Regions from separate parts of the Homo sapiens genome. Here region 2 is linked to region 1. The links are contacts of gene promoters, found by promoter capture Hi-C in human tissues and cell types (Jung and others, 2019). All regions are on one chromosome and are shown on one strand. Each heading gives the region's core, a stretch centred on a gene start or on the middle of the fragment in contact. The rest is flanking DNA. Distances are from core to core; before and after follow the strand shown. Region 1 holds the start of PROM1 (prominin 1). Region 2 overlaps TAPT1 (transmembrane anterior posterior transformation 1).

The links. Contacts are between HindIII fragments. The study calls those that stand out against the background at their distance.
Region 2: a contact is called between a fragment that was not itself captured here and the fragment with the promoter of PROM1 in region 1, in 2 of the 25 tissues and cell types used here (H1 embryonic stem cells and dorsolateral prefrontal cortex).

Annotation. Positions count from the first base shown.
Region 1 is chr4:16,079,514-16,087,435 of GRCh38, forward strand. PROM1 (prominin 1) reads right to left here and starts at 4,510. Exons shown (of 28, transcript NM_006017.3): 1 at 4,465-4,510. The HindIII fragment of the contact is 8,177 bases long and covers 737-7,922 here.
Region 2 is chr4:16,215,171-16,223,092 of GRCh38, forward strand. All of the region lies in intron 1 of TAPT1 (transmembrane anterior posterior transformation 1), which reads right to left. Among named protein-coding and RNA genes, the nearest start is that of TAPT1, 7.3 kb to the right of the region's middle. The HindIII fragment of the contact is 5,454 bases long and covers 2,115-7,568 here.

The sequences.
Region 1 (7,922 bases), core at 3,260-5,759:
TCTCGGGTTTAATAGGTTGTGCCAAAAACAGAAGCTCTGAGTATTTACCAGCTAAACCCCACTAGGTCCGAGAGCCACTGAGAGTAGCATCTGTCTCGGGATAAAATGGGGTGTTTAGTTGAAATGCAGACTATTAATGGACCTAATTTCTGGGATGAAACCCATTAATCTGCATTTTTAACAAGCTTTCCTGGGGACTGATCCTTCAAACAAAGTTTGAGAACAGTTCTGTTCCTGGAGTACTCTGATCCTGGAGTACCCGCCTAGTCAATTCATGTCACTTTCCAAGGACACTTCAGGCTTCCCAAACACATTGGAAAATAACACATGTAAGGTGAAAGCTCCCCAAATGCCCTTTTCATATTGCTTTGAATTGATCTACCCCAGCTGCTGTGCAGGTCCCTGGCTTATTTCTGTATCCCCAGAGCCTGGAACACAGTTGGTACTCAATGAAGAATTGCTACCAGCCTGGGCAACATAGAGAGGCCCTGTCTCTACAAAAAAAAAAAAAAAAAAAAAAAAAATTTAAATTAGCAAACGTAGTGGTGCACAACTGTAGTCCCAGCTACTCGGAAGTCTGAAGCAGGAGGATTACTTGAGTCCAGGAAGCTGAGCCTGTAGTGAGCCATAATCATACCACTGCACTCCAGCCTGGGCGACCTTACATGATTTTGAGCCTGGAGTCCAGAGAACTGCATTTCAATACTGGTTTAAAAGCAAATATGGCCCGGGCGTGGTGGCTCAAGCCTGTAATCCCAGCATTTTGGGAGGCCGAGGCGGGCGGATCACGAGGTCAGGAGATCGAGACCATCCTGGCTAACATGGTGAAACCCTGTCTCTACTAAAAATACAAAAAAAATTAGCCAGGTGTGGTGGTGCACACCTGTAGTCCCAGCTACTCGGGAGGCTGAGGCAGGAGAATCACTTGAACCCGGGAGGCGGAGGTTGCAGTGACCTGAGATCATGCCACTGCACTCCAGCCTGGGTGACAGAGACTCCATCTCAAAAAAAAAAATTAAAAATGAAAAAGCAAATATGGTGATCAATCACCTTCATTTCTTCTTTTCTTCTTTTGATGGAACTTCTCAGAATCTTTCTTTTTAAAGAAGAGCTTTGTAGTGGATTTTTGTCATCTGGAGTGCTTTTGGCGGGGGCATGGGGGATACCCAACATCTGAGACCACGTTTGTGAGCTGGGTGGGAGGCAGCCCTGCCTTGCATTGTGAGGTCAGCTGAGGCGCCCAAACTGTGTCCTGGTGGAGCTGAGCCATGCTGGGCCAATCAGAAGCTTTCTTCTGGGCCTGGGCCTGCGCACTCTGAAGCAGGACAGTATCTAATTCATTCCAGCAATGATGGCAGCAATGCCAGTAGCCACATCCAGGGTCCTGTTCTGGCAGCCGCAGCCACCCACCCATCAGGGGTCCTGTGGCATGTCCTAGATTCCTAAGCCTGGCTAGCCAGCCTTGCTGCCACTTACCTAAGCCACCCAGGGACCATCCTTTCAAGAAGTCCTTTTATATATATACATATACATATATATATGTATATGTATATATATTTTTTTATTATACTTTAAGTTCTAGGGTACATGTGCACAATGTGCATGTTTGTTACATGTGTATACATGTGCCATGTCGGTGTGCTGCACCTATTAACTCGTCATTTACATTAGGTATATGTCCTAATGCTATCCCTCCCCACTCCCGCCACCTGACAACAGGCCCCGGTGTGTGATGTTCCCCTTCCTGTGTCCAAGTGTTTTCATTGTTCAATTCCCAACAAACGGTGCTGGGAAACCTGGCTAGCCATATGTAGAAAGCTGAAACTGGATCCCTTCCTTACACCTTATACAAAAATTAATTCAAGATGGATTAAAAACTTAAATGTTAGACCTAAAACCATAAAAACCCTAGAAGAAAACCTAGGCAATACCATTCAGGACATAGGCATGGGCAAGGACTTCATGTCTAAAACACCAAAAGCAATGGCAACAAAAGCCAAAATTGACAAATGGGATCTAATTAAACTAAAGAGCTTCTGCAGAGCAAAAGAAACTACCATCAGAGTGAACAGGCAACTTACAGAATCCAAGAAGTCCTTTATCTGATAAAAATTACCCCCGACTCAGCTTCCACTGTTTTAACAAAGTATCTTGACCCTTAACAAATCTCAGAAATAGCTCTTTGCTCCCTGAAAAACCTATTTCCTTTATATTTTAAACAGTACCAACTTGGTTTAAAGTTTTCAGCTTGTCCTCTGATGCATTTGTTCACCTCATTGTACTAAAACACAAAGAAACTGTCTCGTATAAAAATCAGAAGGAAGTTTAGAAATCAGAAAGAAGTTTAGAAAAGTTTAGAAATCAGAAGGAAGTTTAGAAAAAAATTATGGAACACATGAAAAAAAAAACAAGAATAAACTAAAGGGCACTGCTGAATAGACAGACAACAGCAACAGTAAGGGGGCTCTGGTCCCCCTTACTAACTCTGCCAAGATGACAGTTGTTTGAATTCTCCAACCCTTCTTCTGCTCCTCTGTCAAAGGAGGATTTCGCATAGGGTTCGCAGGCTAGCGATCTAATAGGTAAAGCACCTGGCACGCAGCTGGAAGGCTATCTGGGGTCTGTCTGCTTCTGCTAGCATCAATACTCTGAGCTCAACTCCACCGGGGCTCCTAGGATAACCGGGACAGAAAGGACGGTGAGAAAAGAAAAATGAGTAACATCACACAAGTTGAATCATATGAGGTTGACGATATTCACATCTTCCATCCAAAAAACCGACAATTTCTTATGATTCAACCCAACATATCGCAGCGGTTGTTCGTGTCGCATGAGTCTCGGGGGGCACTCAAGAACTACGATCGTGCACTTGCTTTCTTAACAAAGAACAGCTGCCGCCCTCAGGAACTCCAGCAAACCTTTCTCCAGAAAGGTCAGTCGCCTTAGCGGGCTCCAGGAGCAACCTGTTGCAGAATGAAGCCTGGGGCGCCGGCTTCCCCGCCCTTTACCTCCAAACCACCTCCAGGCCAAGCCCCCTCCAGGCCTAGCTCCCTTCTGGGCGGAAGCCTCTCGCGAGCTGCGGGACACAAAAGAATGAGCGGCGGGGCGGGCGCGGGAAGCCAAGAGACTCCAGGAATTCGCAGCCGCGCAGGGGAGGGGGTTGCCGGAGTAACTTGGCTGCTCTGAGCGCGTCGGCGCCAGTTCCCCGCCGCGGCCCCTGTTGGGCACCGATCGGGGGCGATCTTGCCAGAGAGAAGGGGTTCTGGAGCTAGTTCCTCCCTCCGATCCGACTCCCTGCCCCTCCAGACACGGGCTTTCGGGGAAACTGATCCCGAGCCTCTGACTTTCTACAGCCGTGAAGCTCCTGGTCTGTCCACGCTCCTCTTTGTTGTCCGGTCGGCGTGTTCTGGCAGGGTGCGCCTTGAGCACCCCAGTTCTCCATCTAGCGATAGCCGCGGGTCCCCGCGCATGCAAGCAGAAGGGCCGTGGAGCGAGAGGCTGGGAAGGTGCTTCAAGCCAGGGGTGCATGCTTTCTCCCACGGACGCGGGGAGATGGCCTCGCTTTGTACCCCCATATCCCTACTCCCGCTGTGGTCGGCTGCACAGTGTTGGCCCATTTCCGCACTCAGCCAGGGAAGCTCAGCGCCTCACGTCCCCGGGGCCATCCCTAGAGTTTCCTTTACCGCAGACTCGTTCCCAAGACCCTGGCGAGTCTCACCTCGGTCACCGTTCTCCCCGAGAGCGAGTCCGAAGTCTCTGGGGCCCCGGTCCAGTTCGCACACTCACCTCCGACTCCCGCTCCGGAACCACGGCCGCCGGCTACCCCCACCCCCGCCCCCATCCCCAGTGGATGGAAAGAAGACCCAAGCGGGGCGTCGCGGGCCACCACTCAGACTAAAAAGTTTGGGTTGGACGGGCACCGGCACCACCACGCTCTCCCCGCAGTTCCTCTGGCCCCCAGCCGCTGTCCGGGCCCGCACCACCTGCTGAGGGGCCAGGGAGGCGGCGCAGATGGCTAGGGTAAGGGGGGCGCAGAGCGAACCCGTCCACTCCTCACTGTACACCCCCAGTACAGTGGAAGGAGTGCGCTCAGCCCCGCGCCTGGTCAGCAGATGCCTCTCTCGCTCCGGGATGAGGACCCAGCTACTCACCGTGCACCCGGCTCCCGCTCCTGCTCCCGCCCTAGTCACCGCTGCCGCCGCCCTTCCCTTAGCTCGCCAGACCCTGGCTCGTGAATTATTTATGACCCGGCTTCTGGGACCACCGCGACGGCTTTCGGAGAGCCCGCCTCCCACTGCCGGCCGCGGAGGGGCTCAGGCGGCGCTGCGGCCGGACCCTCGGACGTGGCGGGAGGCAGGAGAAAGGCCCGGGTGCCCGGGGGGACCCGTTGCGGCTTCCTCTGTCCCGGACGGGGACCTAGGTATGGGGCCGCCGTAATGGAAAGGATTCCTTAAACATACTCACCGCGGCGGGAGAGCTGAGAGCATGGCCAGGTGCCGCGTGGGGATCTGCCTCAGTCACTTAAAGATCGCGAAACCCGAGCCCTGGACGCACTCTGATTGGACCGGCTGAGCTGCTTCGCCACGTAGCCCTGGGGCGCCCACCAGCACCTGGACAGCATCCATTTCCTGTAGAGGTGCCTGCTCAACCCCCTGCACTCCCTTCTTGCAACGCTTGCGCCTCTTTTCCCCCCGCAGAGTCCCTTACTTAGAATGCAGCTACCCTCCTAAAAACTCTCCTGTCTCATCCCGGCCGCATTAGACCCTTCTGTTGCCTAATCCCAATGCAATTTAAAACAAAACAAAACAAAACAAAACAAAACAAAAAACAAAAAAACAATCATTTGGATCCTTAGTGTGCAGCAGTACCAATGCTAGTGGCTGAAGCGGTTGAAAAACAGCATAAAGCCATATTCGCTCCCATGTGTACACACAGGCATCTGCTATAACGTGAAGCCACTGCAACTTCTTTTCTCACTGCCTATTGGTCTTCCCGCTCTGTGAGTTACAACTCAACCTCGGAGTCTTCACCTTGCTACTTAGCTGAGTGGTGGAAACCTGTCAGAAGTAATCACTCGGTGTCTAAGTGTCCTCACCAATTTGCACTTCACTCTTATTCACCACTTCTTATCTTGAATTGAGAATACTGTACTCTCCGGCAGGCAAAAAAAAGACTTAGGGAAGAAATGCACCTTCAGGATGGTGTCTAGCATACAGCAGGTGTTTAATACATGTTTGTGATATGGATAGACAGATGAAAGGATGGATGCACAAGCTACAAATGAATGATAGACAGGAACATTAAGTCAGTACCTTTTTCTTTTTACCCCAGAATCTAACATAAAACAGGTACTGGAAAATAAGCATTTTTTGTTTTTAATAGTTAGATTGATCTTGAGTGTGTATATTTCTAGACAAGAAATGTTAGTTCAGAAAACTTCCAAAAAGTACAGTAGGACATGGCAAGGTTAGATGGTTTGGCTCTGTGTCCCCATCCAAATCTCATATTGAATTATAATTCACTGGGAGAGGGACCTAGTGGGAGGTGATTGGATTATGAGGGCGGATTTCTCCCTTGCTGTTCTCATGATAGTGAGTGAGTTCTCAGGATATCTGATGATTTAAAAGTGTGTGGCACTTCCCCTTTGCTCGCTCTGTCTCTCCTTCTGCCATGTGAAGATGTGCTTGCTTTCCCTTCTTCCACCATAATTGTAAGTTTCCTGAAGCCTCTCTGGCCATGCCTACGGTACAGCCTCTGAAACCCAGTCTCAGGTAGTTCTTTATAGCAATGTGAGATCAAACTAATATGGGTGGAAAACAAATCTCTTCTAATCAGGGCAGATTTCCCCTCTGCAGCCCCTGCAGGTCAGAAGTTTCTGGTTGAACATCTGCTGGGGTCCCATAAACCTTCTCCTAGATAGCACTTTTAGGCTGGAGCTAGCAAAAGAGGTGATTTCTCAAAGGAGTGGGTCCTGATCTCCGTCAAAGTTTGGTCCCGCCTCTTTTAATCGCTGTGACTTTGGCTGCTTAATATTTCTCTGAGCCTCAGTTTCCTGGTCTGCAAAATGAAGACAATTATAACTCACAGGGCTCATTTTCATTCCTAATAATATCAACAACAATAGTATCAGTAGAAAGGGGTGAAGCAAGATGGTCAAATAGAAGGTTTGACCACCCACCCCCCACCCCGGCTAGGAACACAATTTAACTGCTATCTACACACACAAAAAGCACCTTTATAAGAACCAAAAATCAGGTGAGTAACCACAATACCTGGTTTTAATTTCATATTACTGAAAGAGGCACTGAAGAAGCCAGGAAAGACAGTTTTGATTTGCCAATGCCGCCAGTCCTCCATCCCCCAGCAGCAGCAGCCTTGTGGCTTGGGAAAGGGAGAGTGCAGTGATTGGGAGACTTTGAATTGAACTCAGTACTGCTCTGTCATAGCAGAAAGCAAAACTAGGCTGAACTCAGCCAATTTCCCTCAGAGGAAATAGCCCATACCAGTGGTGAAAACTTGAGTTTCAGTAAAGTGCTCTGGGGCCCCAAATAACCTTAAAGGCAGCCTAGGCCACAAGGACAGCAACTCCTAAGCAAGCCCAAATGCTGAGCTCAGAGCCAGTAGACTTGGAGGGCATGCGACTTACTGAGACACCAGACAGGGGAGCTAAGGGAGTGCTTGTGACACCCCTACCCCAACCCCAGGTAGTGCTGTTAGTGGCTCTTCATCACTGCATGCCCTTTTCTAGCACTCATGCCTCTTTTACCCCAGCAGAGCTCTCTACTTGGAATGCAGCTACCCTCCTAAAAATGCTCCTCTCTCAAAAACTCTCAGCCACATTAGACCCTTCTGTTGCCTAATCCCAATGCAGTTAAAAAAACAAAACAAAAATAATCATTTGGATCCTTAGTGTCTGCATCAGTCCCAATGCTAGTGGCTGGAGTGATTAAAAACAGCACGAAGAGACCCATTCCTTCTGCTTGAAGAGAAGAGGGGGAAGAGTAAAGAGGACTTTGTTATCTTGAATATCAGTTTAGCCACAGTAGGACAGGGCATCAGTCTGAGTCATCAGACCCCCATCCCAGGTCCTAACTTGTGGATAACATTTCTAGACACATCCTGGGCCAGAAGGGAAACTGCTGCCTTGAAGGGAAAGAAACAGTCTGGGCAGGACCCATCACCTGTTGGCTAAAGAGCCCTTGGGTTCTCAATAGCCAGAAGCAATACTCAGGTAGTACACTGTGGTTCTTGGGTGTGACTCTGAGATCTGCTGGTTTCAGGTGAGACCCAGTATATTCCCAACTGTGGTGGCTAATGTGAGAGACTCCTTCTGCTTGACAAAAGCAGAAGGAAAAGTAAAGAGGATGTTTTCCTTCCCCTTAGGTACCAGCTCAGCCACAGGGAGGTAGAGTACTAAGCAGGCTCTTGGGGTGGTCTTCAATGCCCAGACACCAATGAATATCCAAAAGCTTCCAGACCACCCAGGAAAACATGACCTCACCAAACAAACTAAATAAGTCCCCAGGGAACAACCCTGGAGAAATAGAGATATGTGATGTTTCAGACAGAGAATTCAAAATCAATATCTTGAAGAAACTCAGAGAAAATTAAGATAACACAGAAAAAGAATTCAGAATTCTATCAGATAAATTTAATAGAGATATTGAAATAATTTTAAAGAATCAAGCAGAAATTCTCAAGTTTAAAAATGCAACTGACATACTGAAGAATGCATCAGAGTCTTTCAATAGCAGAATTGATTAAGGAGAAGAAATAGTGCACTTTTAAAGACAGGCTATTAGAAAATACAGTCAGAGAAGACAAAGAAAAAAGAATAAAAAATAATGAAGCATGCCTACAAGATCTAGAAAATTACCTAAAAAAGCAAATCTAAGAGTTACTGGCCTTAAAGACAAGGTCGA
Region 2 (7,922 bases), core at 3,592-6,091, 140 kb after region 1:
GTCCCAGCTGCTTGGGAGGCTGAGGCAAGAGAATCGCTTGAACCCAGGAGGCAGAGGTTGCAGTAAGCCGAGATCACGCCACTGCACTCCAGCGTAGGTGACACAGCAGGACTGTGTCTCAAAACAACAACAACAAAATATATATATATATCTCCTTAAAAGCCCTTGGAAAGACTTAGAAGCCAACTTGACTATGGTTTTAAACAATAGGTCTACAACAGCTTACTTCCTCCAGCATTAAAACGGATTCCTGGTTCTTTGAGTATTATGTCAAGTGGCTTGCTTATGTTAGGGTTTATTCCATATATATGTGTATGTACACACATACACATACACACTTCTTTAAATACCAGATTCATAATCTGTCTGGGGAGTCAGTGTTACCATGAGAGATACCTGGAGTTGAAACAGAAGAAGAAAGCAGACTTCTTTCCACCTTTGCCAGCCTCACGCAACAGGAGGCGGAATCTATCTACATGTGTCGTACTTTCTCTTTTCAATACATTTACAGTTGAAGTCACATGGGTTAAGTGCACGCAATATGTAAACTCTATTGTATAAATTAACAGATGTTTGGATTTAAAGGACTTAGTCTAACCAAATCCACATAGAGTAGAACTTCTGGTTAGGAACTTTCTAATATGTTCTACGCTGGCTAGAACCAGAACAAGATCTGCTCTTTCAAGGTGAGAAAAAGAAAACCTTTTGAGTTGCAAACAAAAACAGCCAAGACTAATGAAAGATAAACAAATCATACTCAGTTCAGTCAGTTTTCCAATCAGGAAAAAAAGTATGTTTTGATTAGTTAGTATCTACAAGTATCAGTTCTTTCATGTAAAAATCGAGAAGCAACAGGACTTTCAGAAAGCAGAGGAGATTCCACATATATAATTTTTCACTGACCTTAGTGAACTCTGAATTTTGAACCCCAGAGGCCACTTCACCACACTCTCCGGACAGCAGCTTCCCTGTCCCTCCATGTCACCTAAACCTGATTCAGTGGTGCTCTTCTGTCTTGAATGGCTGATTTTTCTCATCTGAGTCTCTTTGGTAGCCCTTCCTCCTGTACCCGATCCTTAAGTGTTTGCTGGTTCAGTGCTCTATTCACTACAGTAACATGTCAGCCATCCTTTAATGATGGTATTCTCCAATATGTCCTCATCATTCTTTCTTGTATTTATTCCCTATACCTACTCTGTTTCCTACACATGCTTTGTTTCCTATAGATTCCTAACTAAAATTAAAACCATCATCAAAATCCTAAAATCACATCTTCAGCTCTGGCTATTGAGTCATATTTCCAACAGCCTCCTCTACCTGGACATCCCATAGACACGGAAATTACCTAAAAAACGAAACCAGTATCTTGCCCACTGATTCAGCACCTCTCCTGGAGTCCTGACTTCAGTTCCTGGCATTACCAGTGACATACTTGCTGCCCTAGAAGCCCAGGGCCAATCTTGACAATCCCCTCTCTCTTCTTACCAAGGTCTACCAATTCTTCCTTTAAAACATTAACTTTTTTCCCCTTTTTCCTATACTCCACCCTGGTTTAGTCCTCTCCATCTCTCTCCAGGTTATTGCAAAAGCTTCTTGATTGAGTACCATTCTTCCCATCTTTCCTCCCTTCAATGCTAACTCCACCTGGCAGCCAGTCAGCAGCTCACACAGATCAGATATGGTTCTGCTGAAACCCTTCAGTGGTTCTTCATTACCTCCAGAATAAAGTCCTACCTTCTCAGTGCGGGCCATCCCAGAACCTCTACAACTGGACACAGGCCATCTCTTTAGTCATGCTTCACACCTGCCTCCCCTGAATCTCTAGGTCACAATTTTCTTTTTATACTACTTTTCATTTCTCCCAAACACGTCAATGGGTTCACACTGCTCCTTGGTCTGAGAATCCCCTACCAATTTTCCAGGAGTGAACATGCCCAGACGGTACCCTCTCTGTGAAGACTTCCCTAAGTTTCTCAGGCAGAGTCTGTCCTTTCCCCTACTCGGCTTCCACAGTACCTGCACCTGCCTATGATTTTCTGCAGTATACTACATTCATTTTCTTGTCTGGTTTTCTCATTCACCTTTGCATCACTGGGACCCAGCACATAACAGGTACTCAACAAATCTTTGCTAAAACAATATACAGGTCAGAGGAGAAGAAGAAAAATCATAGAGAACAAAAACAGAATCAGACAGTGAGAAGCTAAAAATGAAATGGAAAGGGAAGTGACTAAGAAAAGAAAGAATTAGACATAAAACGGAGTGGCCAAATTAGTCTCTTTAGGAGTCAGGCAGCAAAGAACAGAACCGACAAAGAATTGAGGAAGTGATGTGAACAGCAAACTGAGCTAAACTTTCATGTGGGTGATTTGTCCCTTCTGATATGATAATTTCTGGTATTTTCTCATTTTTCTTTACCGCTGAATTTCTCTATTGAAAGATGATCTATATGAAAACAAAACTGGAATTAATCAAAATGTTCAATAGTAATGGAATTGCTTAATAAATAACAACGTACCAATATAAAACAAAAATCAGACATGACAAAAGAAGAGCATTCCAGATACTTGAGAAAAGAACTTGTGATTGTGACAGAATTGTTCTGAGACTTGGGGAGTTAGCAGGGAAGGAGTGAAAAGCTTCACTCAAGGTAGCAGCTGCTGCTGATTCAGGAGCCTCTACTCTGTATGTGTAGCTAAGTGACTGTAAAGGTAACCCAACGGGTACCTGAACCTCAAACCCCCTGAGGGAACAGGGTACCATGATGCAGTCACAGCCAGTGAGTGCCCTGGGTTTGGGAATAAGGAGATCCTCATTGTCCACACTAAGTGCAAGGAAAGAAATTACGCAGCCCACAAGAATGCCATCTGGGTTAAAGAGATACAGAAACACATTACTGCACAATCATTTTCAATTTTAAAAAGCAAATTAAATAAAAAGGTTTATTTGGGGCCGGGCATAGTGGCTCACGCCCGTAATCCCATCAATTTTGGGAGGCCAAGGTGGGAGGATCACCTGAGGTCAGGAGTTTGAGACCAGCCTGTCCAAAATGGCGAAACCCCGTCTCTACTAAAAATACAAAAAATTAGCCAGGTGTGGTGGCAGGTGCCTGTAATCCCAGCTACTTGGGAGGCTGAGGCAGGAGAATCACTTGAAACCCAGAGGCAGAGGCTGCAGTGAGCCGAGATCGTGTACTGTACTCCAGCCTGGGTGACAAGAGTGAAACTCCATCTCAAGAAAAAGAGGTTTATTTGGAAAATTATTCTCCACAATGGTGTCTTCTCTGGTGACTGGAGATGACAGCTTTGACCATAATGAGAGTTGTGTTATGATCCACAGAAGAGCATGGGATTAGCAACCAGAGGAAGGCTGTCCTGGTACCAGCTGTCTTAAACATTAGTCCTGTGACCCTGCTCCAGTCACAGATGTCAATTTCACCGAAAAGAAAATGGAAGCTTAGAGCAGTTTTTTAATACCTGTCAGCTGTTTGCCTTATCCACAGAATCATCAAAGGACTAAGACAGTATTTGTATGAAAGTATATAAAAACTGCAAAGCATGACGCAGTGTCTTCAACTACTTCATATTAACTTCACAAGTACTGTAGTATTAATCAGTTCTGGTTTGGTGGTTATCTAATGTTTATTTCTGCAATCCTAGCTCTATCATTAAAAGGTAATATGACAAATAAGTATATTTAACAACATATATCATCTAAGTAATTTTCTGTAAACATGTTATCATACAACATAAATACTGAGTGTTTTAATTACAAGTACAAAACAATACAATGTCTGGATTCTACCTCTAGATATCCAAGAATTTTAATTATAAACACTAGTTTAGATTCTACAATGGAGAATATAAAAAGTCAAATAAAAACATAACCTATTTTGAGTGTACAGCTCTCACAACTATGAAACAGGTTCTACTGTTATGCCCATTTTGCAGATGAAGAAACCAAGGCCCAGAGAGGCTAAGGAGATCTCCAAGGTCACACAGGAAGCAAGCAGAAAAGCCAGAATTCAAAGTCAAGCAGTCTATGGCTAGAGAGTGTGCTTTTCACCATTAGATAGCTTTGCCTATTATTGCCTCAAGTGCCTTTGTAAACAGGCCACTGTGTTACTTCTGGAAAATTAGGAGCCCTCTGTCCCTCCCCTTTACCTGTGCTCCCACTGCAGCTTGGGCTGACTTCTGTGAAGCTACACTCTTTACTAGTTGCTCCCTTACAAGACCATGAACTTTCTAAGAGCAGGCCCCATGTATCCCTATATTCTCGAAGTCCAGCCCTGCCGGTGAGTTCTGAATGTAAGGGTAAACTTTGCGTACAATTAGCGCGATGCTAATAGGCTGGGGAATGGTTTTAAATGATACACTAAAGAAATACTAACCACAACAACAAAGTTTCATAAGGTAAATATCTTGAAAGCTTTGTCTTACCTCCTTCTCACCTACTCCTGCGTAAGTGGCTTTATTTTAGGGATTAGGATCCTTCTACTTTATAGTATAAGGCAGTTTACAAAGGTCTTGCACACATTACTTCATACAATTCTTGCAACAATCATGAGAGTTAAACAGAGCAATTAATGGTGTCCATATTTTGTCCATTTTCATATTATGAAAAAACTGAGGTTCACAGAAGTTGAGAGACTTGTCCAAAGTCATTGAAAAGCTAAGTGACAAATTGGGAATAGTACCTAGTCCAGCGTGCTCTCTCCCCTACATCAAAATGATCAACCATCTCTCTGACAATTATAATTTGGCTGTGATTCATGGTGAAGGAGGTAGGAGGGTACAGTGCCTCACTGCCAGAGCCATCGAGTTAGCCTCGCTGCTTCTGCTCTGCCAGGACCATTCCCACCTTTTCCTGGAGAAGGCTGCATTTCCCAGAGCGCCACTCAATCTCCAGTGCCGAGGTATACCTGCGTTTCAGTGTTTCGCTTGTTTTTATTTTGTTAAACATTGCTCTCTAGAATTCTATAGACCTATCTGAACTTATCTGTCCTATAATTTTGGCTACAGTTGACTGGTTAATTATTTAGCAAAGCCACTGTTCTTTACCTATGGGTATCACCAAGAACTCTGACAGCTAAGTACATCTTAACTTCTGTCAGACTTTTGCAGTATTTCATTCCTTCTAAGCAAAACAGTCACTCTCATTTGTTATGCCAAACATCTACCTCTACGTTTTAAAAATAAGTATTTTTCCAATAATCCAAATATTTACTTTCTGAACACTGATTTCAGTTTTTAAGATGTCAATTAATCTTAGTTCATTTATCCCAATCTTACCAGGAAGAAATATCATTCAGTAAAAGTTTTTTAAAAATAGACACTTTGGGAGGCCAAGGCGGGTGGATCCCAATGTCAAGAGATGGAGACCATCCTGGCCAACATGGTGAAACCCCGTCTCTACTAAAAATACCAAAATTTGCTGGGCATGGTGGTGCACGCCTGCAGTCCCAGCTACTTGGGAGGCTGAAGTAGGAGAATTGCTTGAACCCAGGAGGCGGAGGTTGCAGTGAGCCAAGATCGCACCACTGTACTCCAGCCTGGTGACAGAGCGAGACTCTATCTCAAAAAAAAAAAAAAAGAAACATTTTACTATTATAGCATAAACAAGTGCTTAACATTAGAAGAACTATGTTTTGACAACTGTGAATTTTCTTTTTTTTTTGAGACAGGGTCTCACTCTGTTGCCCAGGCTGCAGCCCAGTGGCACAATCTTGGCTCACTGTATTTTTTATAGAGACAGGGTTTCACTATGTTGCCTAGGCTGGTCTTGAACTCCTAGGCTCAAGCAATCCACCCGCCTTGGCCTCTCCAAGTGCTACGATTATAGGTGTGAGCTACCGTGCCCAGCCGTCAACTGTGAATATGTAATATGAGGAAAATAATACCAATCATAAATCCAAATCAATTCCTCCAGCACATACGTACATATATATATACTTTTTTTTTGGAGACACAGTCTTGCTCTGTCACCTGTTGCCCAGGCGTGAGTGCAGTGGCACGATCTCGTCTCACTGCAACCTCCACCTCCACCTCCTGGGTTCCAGCAATTCCCCTGGCTCAGCCTCCAAGTAGCTGGGATTACAGGCGCACACCTCCACGCCCAGCTAATTTTTTGTATTTTAGTAGAGACAGGGTTTCACCGTGTTGCCCATACTGGTCTCGAACTACTGAGCTCAGGCAATCCACCCGCCTCAGCCTCCCAAAGTGCTGGGATTACAGGAGTGAGCCACCGCGCCCAGCCCCTCCAGCATATTTTTACATGATATCATCTCCTACCACAGAATTGCTCTGTGATCCAGAACTTAAATTCAGAAAAAGCATAGTATAAATTGCTTTTTCTTCACCCCTAAAAGAAAAAACACAATGTTTAATTATCTTCTAAGAAAGCTTATTTTAGAAATAAGAACCAAAGATTAAAAAGTATTAATTAAAAGTAATGAGTAATCATAAATATATTTATATGTTCAGTAATATGTCTAAATATATCTTTCTTAAAATAGCATTGAGCATTTAAAAATTTGGAAAGTAATACTGGTTAACTGTTAGGAAAATATGAAACATGCATATCTCCATAGTCTTAAATAACATAAAACTTTAGTAAACTTTATTAAGGTTACACTAAAATATTAAATAAGCTTATTGAACAGAGACACACTCTTGTACCAGGCCAATTAGTAATCAGCTTTTCTGGGACTCAATCATACAACAGCAATTCTGCCTTCCTAAGTCAAACATTAAGTAAAGAACCATTTCACACAGTATATTCAAGTTTTTAAGATGTTTGAAAAAATGTTTATAGTCTCATTTAGAGGAGTAAAGAGTAGAATATTTACACATGTATAGATGGAAAACAGGTATAAACAAAGGAGTGACTTTTTCCAAGGTCATAAGGTTATAAAGCAAAGGATTACAAATGAGAATAGAATATCATTAATTTGACAGTCAATGCTATATAGGCTTTCCAGAGACTTCTTTTATGCAAGTAGTCCCCAAATTGGAGCACAAATGAGCTGCTAGGATTGAATTTCAGAGCGTAAACTAAGTTAAAGTTAAAAACTGTCAAAAGCCAAGACACTGAACTGATCAAAAACCAAAATAAGTAACTTTTCATTGTTCGTTTGGTCTATATATACTAATTAAGTAAAGCAAGTGAGAATTTTAAAAGCAAAGCAATAGTTTGTCAGAAGTAGCTAATTTTACTTTGTATCTGGTTTGTGGTTACTCCAAGTAATTTCCCGGTTTTATTATTTTTATTTTTCTTTGTGAACAAATTAATTGGCTCTAGATCATAATTTTAGAATCAGTCACCCTTTAATCATCCATTTGGTTAAGTTTGGGGCCACTGGGATAACTATGTGATATAGGTGAAGACTGGTTAAATGAAAACATATTTTAATAAAAATGTATTTGTAAGAAGAAACTGACAAATTTTCAGTTACACAAAGAATAAGACATAGGTAATATGAATAGTTAAAACCTTCGTCCCACTCGAAATCTTTTAAGGGTATTGCTAAAAATTCAGTTGACTTTTCTGGGTTTCATTCTTCCTGCCTCTGCTCAATCTCTAACAGAGGTGAAGCAAGAAGAGGTCTAACCATGGTTAAAGGGAGAGGAGAGAGGCAAAAGAGATGGATAATAAGTTGAAGTTTTAGAAGTCCAGAGTCACTGTTAAAGAAGAAAGAAATGGGTCCATGGCACTGTTACCAGTAGAAACAATATGTTCACCTATACCCGACTTCAGGCTTTCTTGTTTTACAAGCAATACCTATCCCCATGCATCTCCAACACCTGCATTACACAGGTACTGTTTCACCTGTGCTACCCTCACAGGTGCTACCCTTATTTACACCAAGCCTTCTGTTAAGTCTCCATGGTGACTAGAAGCAACCTAGATGCTTCAGATACTGA